2 separate regions of the Homo sapiens genome follow, and region 1 is linked to region 2. The links are contacts of gene promoters, found by promoter capture Hi-C in blood cells and fetal thymus (Javierre and others, 2016). All regions are on one chromosome and are shown on one strand. The core of a region is centred on a gene start or on the middle of the fragment in contact, and the rest is flanking DNA. Distances in the headings are between cores, read along the strand shown. Region 1 holds the start of ELF2 (E74 like ETS transcription factor 2). Region 2 overlaps ELMOD2 (ELMO domain containing 2).

Region 1 (6,570 bases), core at 1,874-4,373, 1.4 Mb after region 2:
ACATTGTGAAAAACAAGAGTGCCAGAGAGGGAAGGAGAAACATGAAATACCTCTTGAGGCCAGGCTCAGAACTGTCACACTCACTTCTGCCTATCTTCCTTTGACCAAAAGCAAATGGACTGATCTAAGCTCAACATGAACAGGATGGAGAAACATCCTATCTCTACTGAGAGGAACTACAAAGCCGTATTTCAAATGGCATGCATGCATGGAGTAGTGAAAAATTGGGAACAATAATGTTATCTACCACTGTTATCCACCTGGGACTTTCCAGCTTACTGCCAATCGGCAGTGGGAGAGAATTTCTTCTCAACGTGGCTGACAACAGAAATTATGTGACTTGGCAGGTGATATCTGTCCCTAACAACAGGAATCAGTCTTTGTCTTTGCCGGCTCCTTAGTATGCTATGTTATGTTATGAAGATGCAATATTATTGATTATTAATTAATTCCTTACAAATATCAAATTGGGCAATGGTTCCCATAAGTGATAAGTTATTTACAAGAAGTGAGATAAAAAGACTCCCTTAGAAAGGGTGCTCTGTTTGCAGAATCCTGTTTATTGTGTATTAAAGATTTGAATGTTACCAAATTGTTACAAATTCTTTAGTTCAAAAGGGTGTCAACAGTCCCATGATTTAGAACTCAGGAATCCAGAAAACTTTGTCAAGAGTTAAGAGGATCTTTGATTAACAGTCACGGTCTCCAGGTTTCCTCTGTGTTCAAGAGTAAAAATTTCTTAAATAAGAATAAGAGCCCTCGGACTTGCTTTTTTTTGAGACGGAGTTTCGCTCTCGTTGCCCAGGCTAGAGTGCAATGGTGCGATCTGGGCTCACTGCAACCTCCGCCTCTCGGGTTCAAGCGATTCTCCTGCCTCAGCCTCCCGAGTAGCTGGAATTACAGGCACACACCACCACACCCGGCTAATTTTTTGTATTTTTAGTAGAGACGGGGTTTCACCGTGTTAGCCAGGATGGTCTTGAACTTCTGACCTCAGGTGATCCGCCCGCCTCGGCCTTCTAGAGTGCTGGGATTACAGGAGTGAGCCACCGCGCCCGGCCTTTTTTTTTTTTTTTTTTTTTTTTTGAGAAGGAGTCTTGCTCTGTCGCCCAGGCTGGAGTGTAGTGTTGCGATCTCGGCTCACTGCAACCTCTACCTCCGGGGTTCAAGCGATTCTCCTGCCTCCCGAGGAGCTGGGACTACAGGCGTGTGCCACCACGCCCAGCTAATTTTTGTATTTTTAGTGGAGACGGGGTTTCACCATGTTAGGCAGGCTGGTCTCGAACTCCTGACCTCAGGCAATCCACCCTCCAGGGCCTCCCAAAGTGCTGGGATTACAGGCGTGAGCCACTGCGCCCGGCCCAGAGTTGCTTTTTAAGAAAGGAAGAGAAGACTCACCCCCAAGAAAATAGAGGCAACAGCAGTATTAACAAAAGAAAGAGATCATTACATTCTTAGGCTCTTCAGGGATTTAAATCTGGAGCCTCCTGCAGCTTTCTGACATTTGAGCCTTACTCTAGGGTGATTTCCACGGTTCCCACGTCCCTTTCAAGAGAACAGCTATCACTTATATTCCTCAGTGTTTCTTCTTTGCTCCAGACTGGTTGTGAAGCCGTAAAAAGGGTAACGCTGGAGCCCAGAAATCAGCTGGTGAATACCGCGCCAGGTGCCAGGTCCATCGCGGCGAGGCTGCAGGAGCCCTGGAGGGGAGCAAAAGGAGCCCCGCGCGCACCGGACAGGCTGTGCTCTTTGTTAAAGAAACAAATACAGAAAACGCCGCGGCGGGGAATGGTGGTGGTGAAGAAATAGACTGAGGCGTTTGTATGCATTAACTGTGCCTACAAAGCCCATTAAAGAGACGCTCCTACACAGGGCAACCCACGGCACCGTGTCATTGGCTTTTGTGCACTTGAAGGCGCGTGAGAGTGCCCCGCTCGAAGGCTCCCCTTTGTGTGAAAGTGTGGAAACCAGAAGCGTGCAGCCACTGCTGGGTTTTCGTTTTCGAATTCGCAGGCACTTGGGCCAAAATACTCCCACACCAGAACACTCTCTCATTCTCGCACCAACAACACTCAGACTTGAGTTACTTCTCCGTTGCGGACCGCGCAAGGAGCGACAATGGCTAGGTGCGAGTGCCCGCAGCTCCCCGGGCAGCTCCAAGGGGCCGCCCGCCGCGCTCCGCAGCTGCGCGCTGGGCCCAGCCACCCGACAGCCAGCAAACGCCGGCACCAACCGCCGCGCGGCCGGGCTGTTGGGCGGGTGGTAATTTCTGGGAATGGGGCGGGGTCGCGGGTGTACTACGCCCGGCTTTTGCTAGCGGGGAGGAGGAGCTGGCGGCGCCGAGGGGCGCGAGGCTGGCGGGGCGGTGCGCCACGTGCGTCACCGGCCGGGGCGGGGCCGGCGTCGCGCTCCTGCCCGAACCCCCACCTTTCACTAAGCCAAGGCTGAGGAGTGGGAACTGGAAAGACCGGGCTAGGAGTTTTTGCAAAACCTCGCCCCCCTGTAACTGTCAGACTGCCCGACTGTGGGGCCGTCTCCGGAGAAGGGCGAGAGTCCTGAGTTGGGGATGCGGTGACGGCGGGGCCTGCGGGGGCCCTGAGTGGCGAGGGTGTGTGCGTGCGGTCCCGGCCGGCGGGGGAAAGCCGGCGGGCGCTGCAGGTGCACGCGCGGCCCCATCGGCCTCACACGCCTGCCCCGTGCGGCAGAGCCCCCTGCACCAATCCGGGGCTGGAGTGGAGAGCGAGATCGGGGAGCCCTGGGCAAGGAGCCGGACAAGTGACGAGCGTCTTTACCTGGGAAGGCGGGTTTGGGAGAAGTTGGGCGAGGAGAAGAGGGCGGGATTCAAGACAGCAAAAGAAGCAGGTTCGGCGGGCTGGTGGGGGCCCGAGGGCGGCGGGGCCCCGCGGGGTATAAATAGCCGGCCCGCGTTTGACAGGCGCTGCGGTGACTGGCGGTGCCGCCCCCGCCCCCCCGCCGCGTGGGGAGGGGAGGAGCACTCTGAGCTGGCGGGGAGGGGGAGGCGGACTCCAGTGTCCTGGTGGAGGCGGCAGGAGGCCGAGGGGGAGGAGCCGAGGCGGGGGGTGGAGGGAGGGGGCCGGGAGCGGAGCGGGGCGGGGGCAACCATTGCTCCCAGCGCCAAGCTCTGTGTCGCCGCCGTCGCCTAGGCGGTTGGGGGTCGGTGGGGCGGCGCGGGCGGGGGTCGCTGCGCGGGGCGGCGAGCCTCTGTTTTGTCTCCTTCTCTCCCTGTGGAGCGGCTCGGGCTGCTGGGGAGGCCCCGGCTCCCTCCGGACGCTCGGCCAACGGCGGCGGCTAGTCCGCGGCCCTGCTGAGAGGGAAAAGGACGCCGCGGTCTTCCCAGGCGTCGCGGAGAGCAGGTAAGAGCGCGGGCAGCCGAGGCTGGTGAGAGGGAGCGCGAAGGGCGCGGCGATAAAGCCTGGCTGTCCCGACTGCCGCCGCCTCCCTCCGCGCCCCCGCCCCGCGCTTGTGTTGTTTGCTTCGGGGTTTGCGGAGGGGTTTTCCGGCGGCTGCGGCGGTGACACCGGCCGGGGGCTGGGGGAAGGGGGCTGAGTGTCCCCAGGCAACGGTCGCGGAGCGGGACTTGGAGAAAGGGGAAGGCGCGCTGCGCGCCTGCCCGCGGGGAGCGCGGGGCGCGGGGCAGGGCTGAGGGAAGAGGTTACAGACCCCGGCGGGGGGGATGGGCCGAGCGCAGCTGGTCTCTCCGTGTTTACATCTCTGCGCGAGTCACCTCTGCCGAGAAGCGGACTGAACTGACCCGCCTCATCCCGCGGGGAGGCCAGGGCGGGGGTCCGGCTCCGGAGGAAGCGCGTCCTGGGAGGGTTTGTGTAGGGCGGGAGTCTGCGGCCGGCGCCGGGGCTGGGCGGCGAGCTCGGGGCGGGACCTGGGAGGCTCCGGCCGCTCTGGGTGGCGGGCAGGCGGGGGGGGGCGCTGGACACCAGTTTCCTTCCCTGTCGTGCCTTATCGCCGCCGCTTACCTTTCCTTCCCGGCGCTGCTAGCTTGCACGACAGGTTGTACTCGGCAGTTCTTTTATTCTCGCTCTCCACGCCGGCACCGTGCTGCCATCTCCCCCTATTCCCCGGGAGGTAGGGAGGCTTTGCTCGGATCGGAATCTGTTTCTTAAGCAAAACAAAAACGGGCTCGTAACAGGCACGTCCAGTGACCGCCTTCTGGATCCTCGCGAAGCTGGTCCTCAGGGACCGCGCGACGGGATGGTCTAGGGGCGCGGAAGGAGGACAGGGAGGGCTCTGCCAGGGCTGGATGCTGACTCTACCCCAGGAGCTTTGTGATCAGGGTAGCCGAGCCCTCTCTTCTGCTCCATTTGGGCATTTTTATTCCATGTCCATAAAGGACTCAAAAAATATTCCGTGACACCAAGAATAATCCAGATCGCACAGTTTCTAATCTTTTTCCCTCTGCCAGCATCCTGGATGGACTCTTTCTAGGAGGCAGATTCGCTGCAGAATAGCCTTTAAGTTTAGTACTTCATTAAATGAGGAAGAGGGGGACACGTCATTGTAAAACTGTTAAAAATTCCCCCCTTTCTTGTGTTCATGAACATTTACTTCAGCTTAATGGTTTAAATTGTAATCCGGTGATGAGAGAATAGTAATCGTGTGTTTGATAATCAGATTTGTTTTCCTTTTTATCTGTGATTCTCTATCCTGAAGTAAATTATGCACTTTCTTTGGTGCCAGAATCACGGAAGGATGTATGCTTTACTAAGAAAGGATTGGATATTTGTGTTTCAGAGTTTCTTCAAAAGGTAGAATGACTTATATAGGACTGGAAACCATTAAATTACATTTAAGGGAATTTAGGAATAATAAAACTTTTTATAGAGCATTACAGTTTACAGAGTACATTCATGTAAATATTATTGAGACGATATCTAGTAGTTAAACACATGAAATAGAAAATTGGAATATCCTGGGCATTTGAAGTTTGAATATTTATGTCAACCTATTTTTAAGTTTAGTGATTTAACTCATTGGATTTATCATTGCCTTTCATTTCAGACATAAATACTCATTTACAAAATAGTCAGCTTGAGTATGGTTGGAAAGAATTTGTAACTTTGGGATTTTTCTGTCCTAAGTAAACAGATTGGTACCTGTGGCCTGTAGGGTCTGCTAATGTTAGTGGCTTTACCTGCTCATGTTGTATACCATTTTTGGAGGAGTAACAGCTTCACGATGATATAATTCACATACTAGTCAGTTCAGTTTAAAGTGTACAGTTTGGTGGGTTTATTAATTTTTTAAAAAATTACTCCATTTTGCAGGTGAACAATTCAGTGGTTTTTACTACAATTGTCCATCGGTATCTGTTGGGGATTTGTTCTAGGGCCTTCCTCAGACACCAGAATCTATGGATGCTCAGGTCCCTAAAATAAAATGGCATAGTTGCTGGGTGCAGTGGCTTGTGCCTGTAATCCCAGTTATTCAGGAGGCTGAGGTGGGAGGATCTCTTGAGGCCAGAGTTTGGACACCAACCTGGGTGACAGAGCAAAATCCTGTCTCCTAGGAAAAATGAATAAAACTGACATAGTATTTGCATATAAACTCTGCATATTCTCTTGTATGCTTTAAATCATCTCCACATCACTCATACTACCTAATACAATGTGGATGCTATGTAAATAGTTGTTATACTGTGTATTGTTTAGGGAATAATGACCAGAAAAAAGTCTGTACATGTTCATTTACAGACATAATTTTTTTTTGAGTAGTTTCTGTACCTCATTGATTGAATCCATGTATTCAGAACTCATGGATATGGAGGGCCGACTGTATATTCAGAGTTGTGCAGCCATCACTATACTCAATTTTACAGCATTTTAATCATCCCCCAAAAGAGCCCCATATCCATTAACAGTCGCTTTTCATTTTCCCTCAGCACTCCCAGTCCTATGCAACCACTGATCGACTTTCTATCATTATAGATTAGACTGTTGTGGACATTTTATGTAAATGAAACCATAAATGCGGTCTTTTGTGACTGGCTTCTTTCGTTTAGCATAATGCTTTCAAAGTATATCCATGTTGTAATATGTGTCAGTACTTCATTTCTTTTTTTTTTAAAATCTATTTTCTTTCTTTCTTTTTTTTTTTTTTTTAAGATGGAGTCTCGCTCTGTCGCCTAGGCTGGAGTGCAGTGGTGTGATCTGGCTCACTGCAACCTCTGCCACCCGGTTCAAGCGATTCTCCTGCCACAGGCGCATGCCACAACACCTGGCTAATTTTTTTTTTTTTTTTGTATTTTTAGTAGAGATGGGGTTTCACCGTGTTAGCCAGGATGGTCTCGATCTCCTGACCTCGTGATCCGCCCGCCTTGGCCTCCCAAAGTGCTGGGATTACAGGGGTGAGCCACCGCGTCCGGCTAATCTATTTTCTTTTTTATAGAGATGGGGTTTCACCATATTACCCAGGGTAGTCTTGAACTCCTGGGCTTGAGCAATCCTCTCTCTTTGGCCTCTCAAAGTGCTGGGATTTCAGGCTTGAGCCACTGCACCTGATCCTTTTTAATTAAAAAAATTTTTTATAGTCTTTTTT
Region 2 (6,725 bases), core at 2,610-5,109:
GAATATTGAATTAGACTCCTCAAATTCGAATAAGTCATTAATTTTTATTTATAAATCCCAGTTTGTTAACCCTTAATATCTAATTGATAAATAGTCCTTAATCTAAAATATAAGCAAATAAGATTCAATTTTTAACAAAGAAAGAATGCACACTGTGGAACAGTGCACAGTCCAACATGATCATACTTCAAGATCACTGCTTTAGGGAATCACTCTGAATAGATTAAAATCACTTTTATTCACAGCAATCATTGGTAATGCTAAGTACTCTCAAGTACCAAAGAGGTTTTCATGAATATCAAATTTCTAAAATGATTATGGTATATATTGGCTTAATTATATTATCATTAATATTATTAGTAACCACTATTTGTTGAATACTTACTAAGTATTGGGCATTCTCTTAGACTGTTTTCATAGTAATATCTCTAATTTCAAAACAACTATGTGGGTATGAATAGCTTTTAGAATGAGAAAATAAGTAACTTGTACACAGTCAAACAACTGGTAATTGATAATATCAGGATTTGAACCCAGACTTTTTTATCGAATAAAAATGTAATTAGGTAAACCAAAATATCACAAAATGAGAAATAGATTTACCCTACAAAGTAAATGGAATATACAAATTAGGTGCAATACACACATAAATTATATTTTTAAATTGATAAGGCTACCTCTGTTTATTGGAAAGTTTGTCTTAGATTTAAAACCTTAAAAGAATAAATCGTTAAGTGATTTAATTTCAGTATTTACCCATTTGTTGACCACTCTCTTTGCAGGATGCCCTCCAAAGTACTATAGCAATTTCTATTTTTGAATAATGAAGTTCATAAGAATACAATTTTAATGTTTACTTTTCAAGTGAACTTTTTAATAGCAAGAAACAGAGGTAAAAAATGATGAACATTTTATTTTTCTTTAACTTGTAACCACTACTTTAAAATCCCCAAACACTCTAGTCTACATTTACCTCTTCCTTCTCTAAACTTCTACTTACAATTACATTCAATTCCAGTCTTCTTTTGTATATCTTTTGAATATCCCAAAGACCCTGGTTGAATACTGAACATGTGGTAGTCATTCAAATCCTTGGACGGATTTGACCAAGGCACTGGAGTTCTTAAATGTAGCATCTTATGTATTGTTCCACTTAAGCTTGGCATGATTTTACCACACATACAATCCCATTAATAAATTCTGTGACCAAAACTGTTGTTACAAATGCAGTTATAACAATTACACTGATAGATGTGATACTGAGTCCCCAGTTCCAGAACCTCTACAGTAAATTAGTAAATAAAAGAAACACTACACTCTATTCTGAAAAAAGTTAATTTTCATTTACTTATTATTCTTTATCCTCTTATTTTTCTCACTTATTCATTCATTCACTCAATAAATATTCAGAGCCTTATCACATTCCAGGCACTGTTTCAGGTACTAGAAAAACATCAGTGAACAAAACAACAACAAAAAATAAACAATGCCTTTTTCTTTTCAGGAATGGAAAAATAAGTAAGTAAAATATTTAGTACGCTAGTGATGGTCTGTGCTATGGTGAAACAATTAAGGAAAGGGGATCATAAAGAGAGACAAAGGTATACCCTTAGGTAGAGAATGGTCATGGAAAATCTCATAGAGAATGTCATAACTGAGGAAAAACCTGAAAATGAGGAAGTGAGCTAAGCTTTTAAGCGGGAGAAGATAATTCTACTTAAACAGAAGACCTGGTGCAAAGGTCATAAACCAGAAGCATGCTGATGTGTTTGGAAAATAACAGGCAGCATAGTGGTGATGACCAGTGAGCAAGGCAAGAACAGTAGTAGATAAAGTCAGAGAGTAATGAAGGGGACCAGATAAGAGTTTTAGTGGACAGCAATGGCAGTGTTGGACAACTTCCAGGCTGAGAGATGTCAAGGTTATTTGGAGGAACACACTACTGAAAAAATTGGTTGGAAGCTGGGATTGTGGGTATAACATAAAGAGCTCAGCTATGGTTTTACTCTCTTTACAATGTCGAGGCTTAAAGAAAACAGATTTCACAGAACAATTCATTCTAGAGGGTTCAGCACCCAAATAGTTCCAAACCAACTTGTTTAAGGTCAGTTTGAAAAACATACACAGTTTCCTATCGAAACAAAGTTAAAGCAGTTATGATCCACAACAGTCCCCAGACAGCATACTAATATGCTATTAGTGCCTCAAGACACTGCCCTCACCAGCAGGAACGGCTGCAGCAGTATCACCTGGGAACATGTTAGAAATGCAATCAGAACCAGACCAGAAATTCCGGGGATGGGGCCCAATAATCTGTGTTTTAATAGGCCTCCAGAAGATTTTGATTCTTCCTTAAGTTTAAGGACTACTCTTGTAATGGACCTGAAATATAACACCTCCCCAAGTGCATCTGCTAAAATTTGTAATATTGTTACTTTGGGAAACTGCATCCTATGTTTCAAATAAAGGAACTATACAAATAAATAAGGTATAAATAAATTTTGAGAACCAGCAACCTGTTAGCTTTCAGGACCTCCACATCCTCATTTTAAAAAATATATTAATCACTCTCTAACAATTCTGAACAAAGGAGTGTAACTCTGGACTCTTCCCCCAAATATTCACTTATATATATGAGTTATTCTTAAATAGACCATTCTTAAAGAGTACAACTAAATCATTAAAGTACCTATTTTAAAGGTTACTCTTCAGAACATAACAGATATGCTTGCAACTCTCAAGAAGGTCTATTTTATTTCTGGCACGATTCATAATACTAGACAGTAGCAAATCAACATTTTTGACCTTGAGCCACATTTTACATCATGATCAATAACAAACATTCATGTGGATGTCCAAAATACACACAGATGTACACAGAAATATTTAAAATAATTATAATAGTATAAAAAATTCCTAAAATATATTTAACCATATTATGACCAATGGTTTCTAAATATTTTCTGTTCTATTCCTATTATTGTTTAATACTGGTTGTGTTCTATTATGGGATTTCAAACAATGGTCTAGATGACCCGTATTCTATCCTTGCCACACCAAATAATCTACATGTAGACAAAATTGTGAACTACAATAGGGAAGTAACAGCATGTGGTAGACTGAATTATTGGTCCCAATTCTTCATTACCTTGTAATTGAATTATACAACCTACTCCCTACCATAGCCTTACGGTGGGCATATCATATTTCTCCACCCCTTGACTTGGGCTTGGCCATGTAACTTGTTTTAACTAACAGGTTGCTAACAGACATGACACAAAGAGACTTAAAATATATTTGTGTAGTTGGGCCTTTAGTTATCCATGGTGAAAACATTCACCAGATACCTGTTAACCCCCTACCTGAGTCCCAGATGAGACAAATGGAATAGACAGGAACTTGGCCCCAGCTTGAAGTAAGGCTTCTCCAGCTGACCCATAGACATATGAGCAAGAAACAACGTATCGTTTTATGCCCCTGAGATTTTATTATAGTTTGTTACACAGCAAAAGCTGACTAATACATAGCATGAATTATGACTTATTTTAGCTCAAAAGGTACACAACCCAGGGTTTTCTCTATCCTAAGTTGCTTTTCTCTCATATAATCTATCCTGAGGACACAGTCTAAAAGACGACTTTCCTCCTAAGGCCCTGCTTTCCTAAAAGCTATCAACTCTTAAAGCAAAATAAACAAATAAAACCTCAGGACAGGACAAATTATTCAAGTATTTTCTTTGAAATACACACGAAAAACACATATATAGAGAAATGTTTGAAAACAGAATATTACCTCTAAACGGGGAAAATTTCACTCAATGCTCACTATAGAAAACACTCTTCTAGCAGGGCACTTTTTTTTTTTTAAGAAAAAATATGTCCACGTTAAGTTTTCTAGAGTTACCACCTTTATGTTATCCTACCTTATTCTTGGAGTATGTCAAGGAATTTTCTGAAATGACAAAAAAAAAAAAAAGATGTTATCACTTAAATGCTGTTTGTCAATTACCCTATAATAAACAACTAGTAAAAATATCAAACCAGTAACAAACTAATAGTTCCAGGAGATATAATTTCTATATAACAGGAAGCATTTTAAAATTTAATCTTACAGTATAAACATATGATTTCAAAAAACTCAACCAAACACAAAATACCTATTCAAAGAGGTGACACCAACCTCATTACCTGGGGTCATATGTTTCTGTTTAGACCCCAAAGTGTCTACTAACCACTGCAAATTCACCCATAATTGTGTCACAGTAGCTCAGGTCCCAGAAACTCATCTTAAGACTACAATGAGAGTGCTCTCTACTGCATTTTCATTTGTTAGCCTGAGCCTTTAGATTTGAGGTGATAGCAACCAAATCGTACAACAAATAGGCAAGGACTTCAGATTATCTGGTCAACCCTTCTGTCACCAGACAAATAGCTTCTCCATTCCTGGTTTCTATATCAAGAATCACAGGAACATTTTTATTGGTCTATTTAAAAAATTTTCTGGCACATTTACGAATAATCTTTTCTCAGCAATTTGAAAAATTTAGGAAAAATGCTTTTGCCACAAACAAATGCCTTTATATATATTCTTCCCCCACACTATAAAACACCAACCCATACTGCCTGAAGAGATTTCTTATCAAGAGGTACTTTGTTCTTTTGAGTAGTCAAAAGGGCAAATTAAAAGAGCAGCAATAATTTAAGTCAACCATGAAGTTGTAAGAAAACTAGGAAAGTAATTAAACTTAATCAACCAGCTGCTATGAGGCAGCGTCTGTCTGTCATTCTTCCGATGTTGTCTTGGATACAGGTTCCATTTGCCAATACTCCACTCTCTTAACCTGACAGGGGTTGATTTCTCAGTCGAAGCACACTTGATCAACACAAAAAAAAAATCTGGCTAATTCACAATTTTCCGTTTAACACAGAGAGCATGAGCTAGAGCACTTCTCTGCTCTTCCTTACCCTGGCTGAAAAGAAGCGACTTCAAAACACAGTTCTTACTCATCTGTGTTCAAATTTTAGAGTAAAATTTTCAATGAAGCACTGAAAACTGATGTATTTTAGAAGGTAACAGAGCAACACTGTTCAACAGAAATATAACACAAGCCAAAATGTGACCCATTTGTGTACTTTAAAATTCTGTATAGCCACATTAAAGTAAAAAGAAACAGATAACATTTTAATATATTTTTAACCCAACATATCCAAAATATTACCATTTCAACATACAAAGAATATAAACAATTACTGGGACTTTTTACATTTTCTTATAAGTCTTTGAAATACAGTTTATATTTTACACTTACAGCACATCTCAATTTAGACTAGCCACATTTCAAATGCTCAATATAATGTGGCTATTGGCTATGGTATTGGACAGTGAGAATGAGTCTAATAATCTTTCCTAGAGACCACTGGATACATAATTACAGGCCTTTCATAAGTAACAGTAAGAAAGTAAAAGACTGATGAAGGATCCTAAGTATAAAAATGGATGTAGACTGAGGCACTCATTCTTCCCACCATGTGAGTGAAAATTTCAAAGGGATTATGTAAGTATAGAAATTTTTCACCAGAAAATAGGTTGCAACTATAATCTAAGGAATAACCGATAAACTTCAGGAGCCAGAGAATTCTTTCCACACATAAGCAATTAAATAACCACTTTTTCTATAAATTCATACAATTTTAGAGCTGAAGGAGTCAAAGCGGGACTTCAGAGCTTATGAAATTCAGTTTAAGTGACTTGTCAGGATACAAAAGAAATACATCTGTCACTGTGAGTCCTGAGAAAAACACTCCGTTAAACTTTTATTAGTACTTTTTCTTTTTGAATAACATTACCTATCCTGTGTGTCCTTTGTGCACCTACATAGGTATCAAATATTCGCTGCAATTCACACTTCCCAGTCATCTGTCGTAATAGCCATTTCATCCAAAATCGAAAAAAGTGCCCATAGAAGAACTCCCACAAAGAAATAAACATTTTTTTTTCCTGGAGGAGGGAAACATACAAGACAAGCTTAATGACCTTAAACTGAATTTTAAAATTTAAAAAGTTTATACAACTGATCAAATCTCAAATTATGTATCTATCATTTCATTGTGTCTGTTTTGACAGTTTAATTAGGCATTTAAAAACAATGGCAGGTGTAATATATACCGCTATTAATTGATGATCAAATGGCCAATTAATCACTTTTTCAAAACTAAAATTCAAACAATGTACTCAAACTATTCAATGGCTTGAAAGAGTAACAGAATGGTTTGCACTTTTTGCTAAATAATTGTATTTCATATCTTAGTTTCCTAACTTCCCATTCTTTGAGAACTGGGGCTCAACAGTTCAAGATCAAGAGGACTCCAACTAATCAACAATTAAAATATATACCAAAACATCAGAGTTGTTTTTATAGAATACACTCTTCTTATCCCATGTGGATAATTCGTTACAACTGTCCCAGTCAGGTGATGCCAGCAAATAAAAACACTACAAACTTAAGTATACAAGTTGAACACTGAGTATATAACACCTTAGCTCATTCTTGATTTTCCATTCAATAGGTCAAGGGCAGAAATACTAACAAGTTTTTGTTTTGCTAAGTACACACTCGATACAACTATATCTTATGCCATAAGAAAATTCTTCAGCTTCTAAATGAAAAAGTCAGGGAGATACTAGTGAGAGGGAGATACTTAAAAACAAAATTGCTCGTCTCCTTC

What was found. The method cuts DNA at HindIII sites, captures the fragments that hold promoters and counts their contacts. A CHiCAGO score of 5 or more calls a contact.
Region 1: a contact is called between the fragment with the promoter of ELF2 here and a fragment that was not itself captured in region 2, in 1 of 17 cell types (fetal thymus). The highest score is 7.7, in fetal thymus.

What each region holds. Positions count from the first base shown.
Region 1 is chr4:139,173,771-139,180,340 of GRCh38, reverse strand. ELF2 (E74 like ETS transcription factor 2) reads left to right here and starts at 3,123. Exons shown (of 10, transcript NM_001331036.3): 1 at 3,123-3,374. LOC105379412 (a long non-coding RNA gene) reads right to left here and starts at 4,186. Exons shown (of 4, transcript XR_007058273.1): 1 at 3,993-4,186. RefSeq lists a cis regulatory region at 1,662-1,786, silencers at 2,153-2,532, 2,543-3,502 and an enhancer at 4,103-4,152. The HindIII fragment of the contact is 9,266 bases long and covers 1-6,570 here.
Region 2 is chr4:140,524,692-140,531,416 of GRCh38, reverse strand. It overlaps ELMOD2 (ELMO domain containing 2), which reads right to left. Exons shown (of 9, transcript NM_153702.4): 2 at 5,847-5,997; 3 at 3,923-3,951. The coding sequence starts at 5,988. Among named protein-coding and RNA genes, the nearest start is that of ELMOD2, 3.9 kb to the right of the region's middle. The HindIII fragment of the contact is 4,334 bases long and covers 1,693-6,026 here.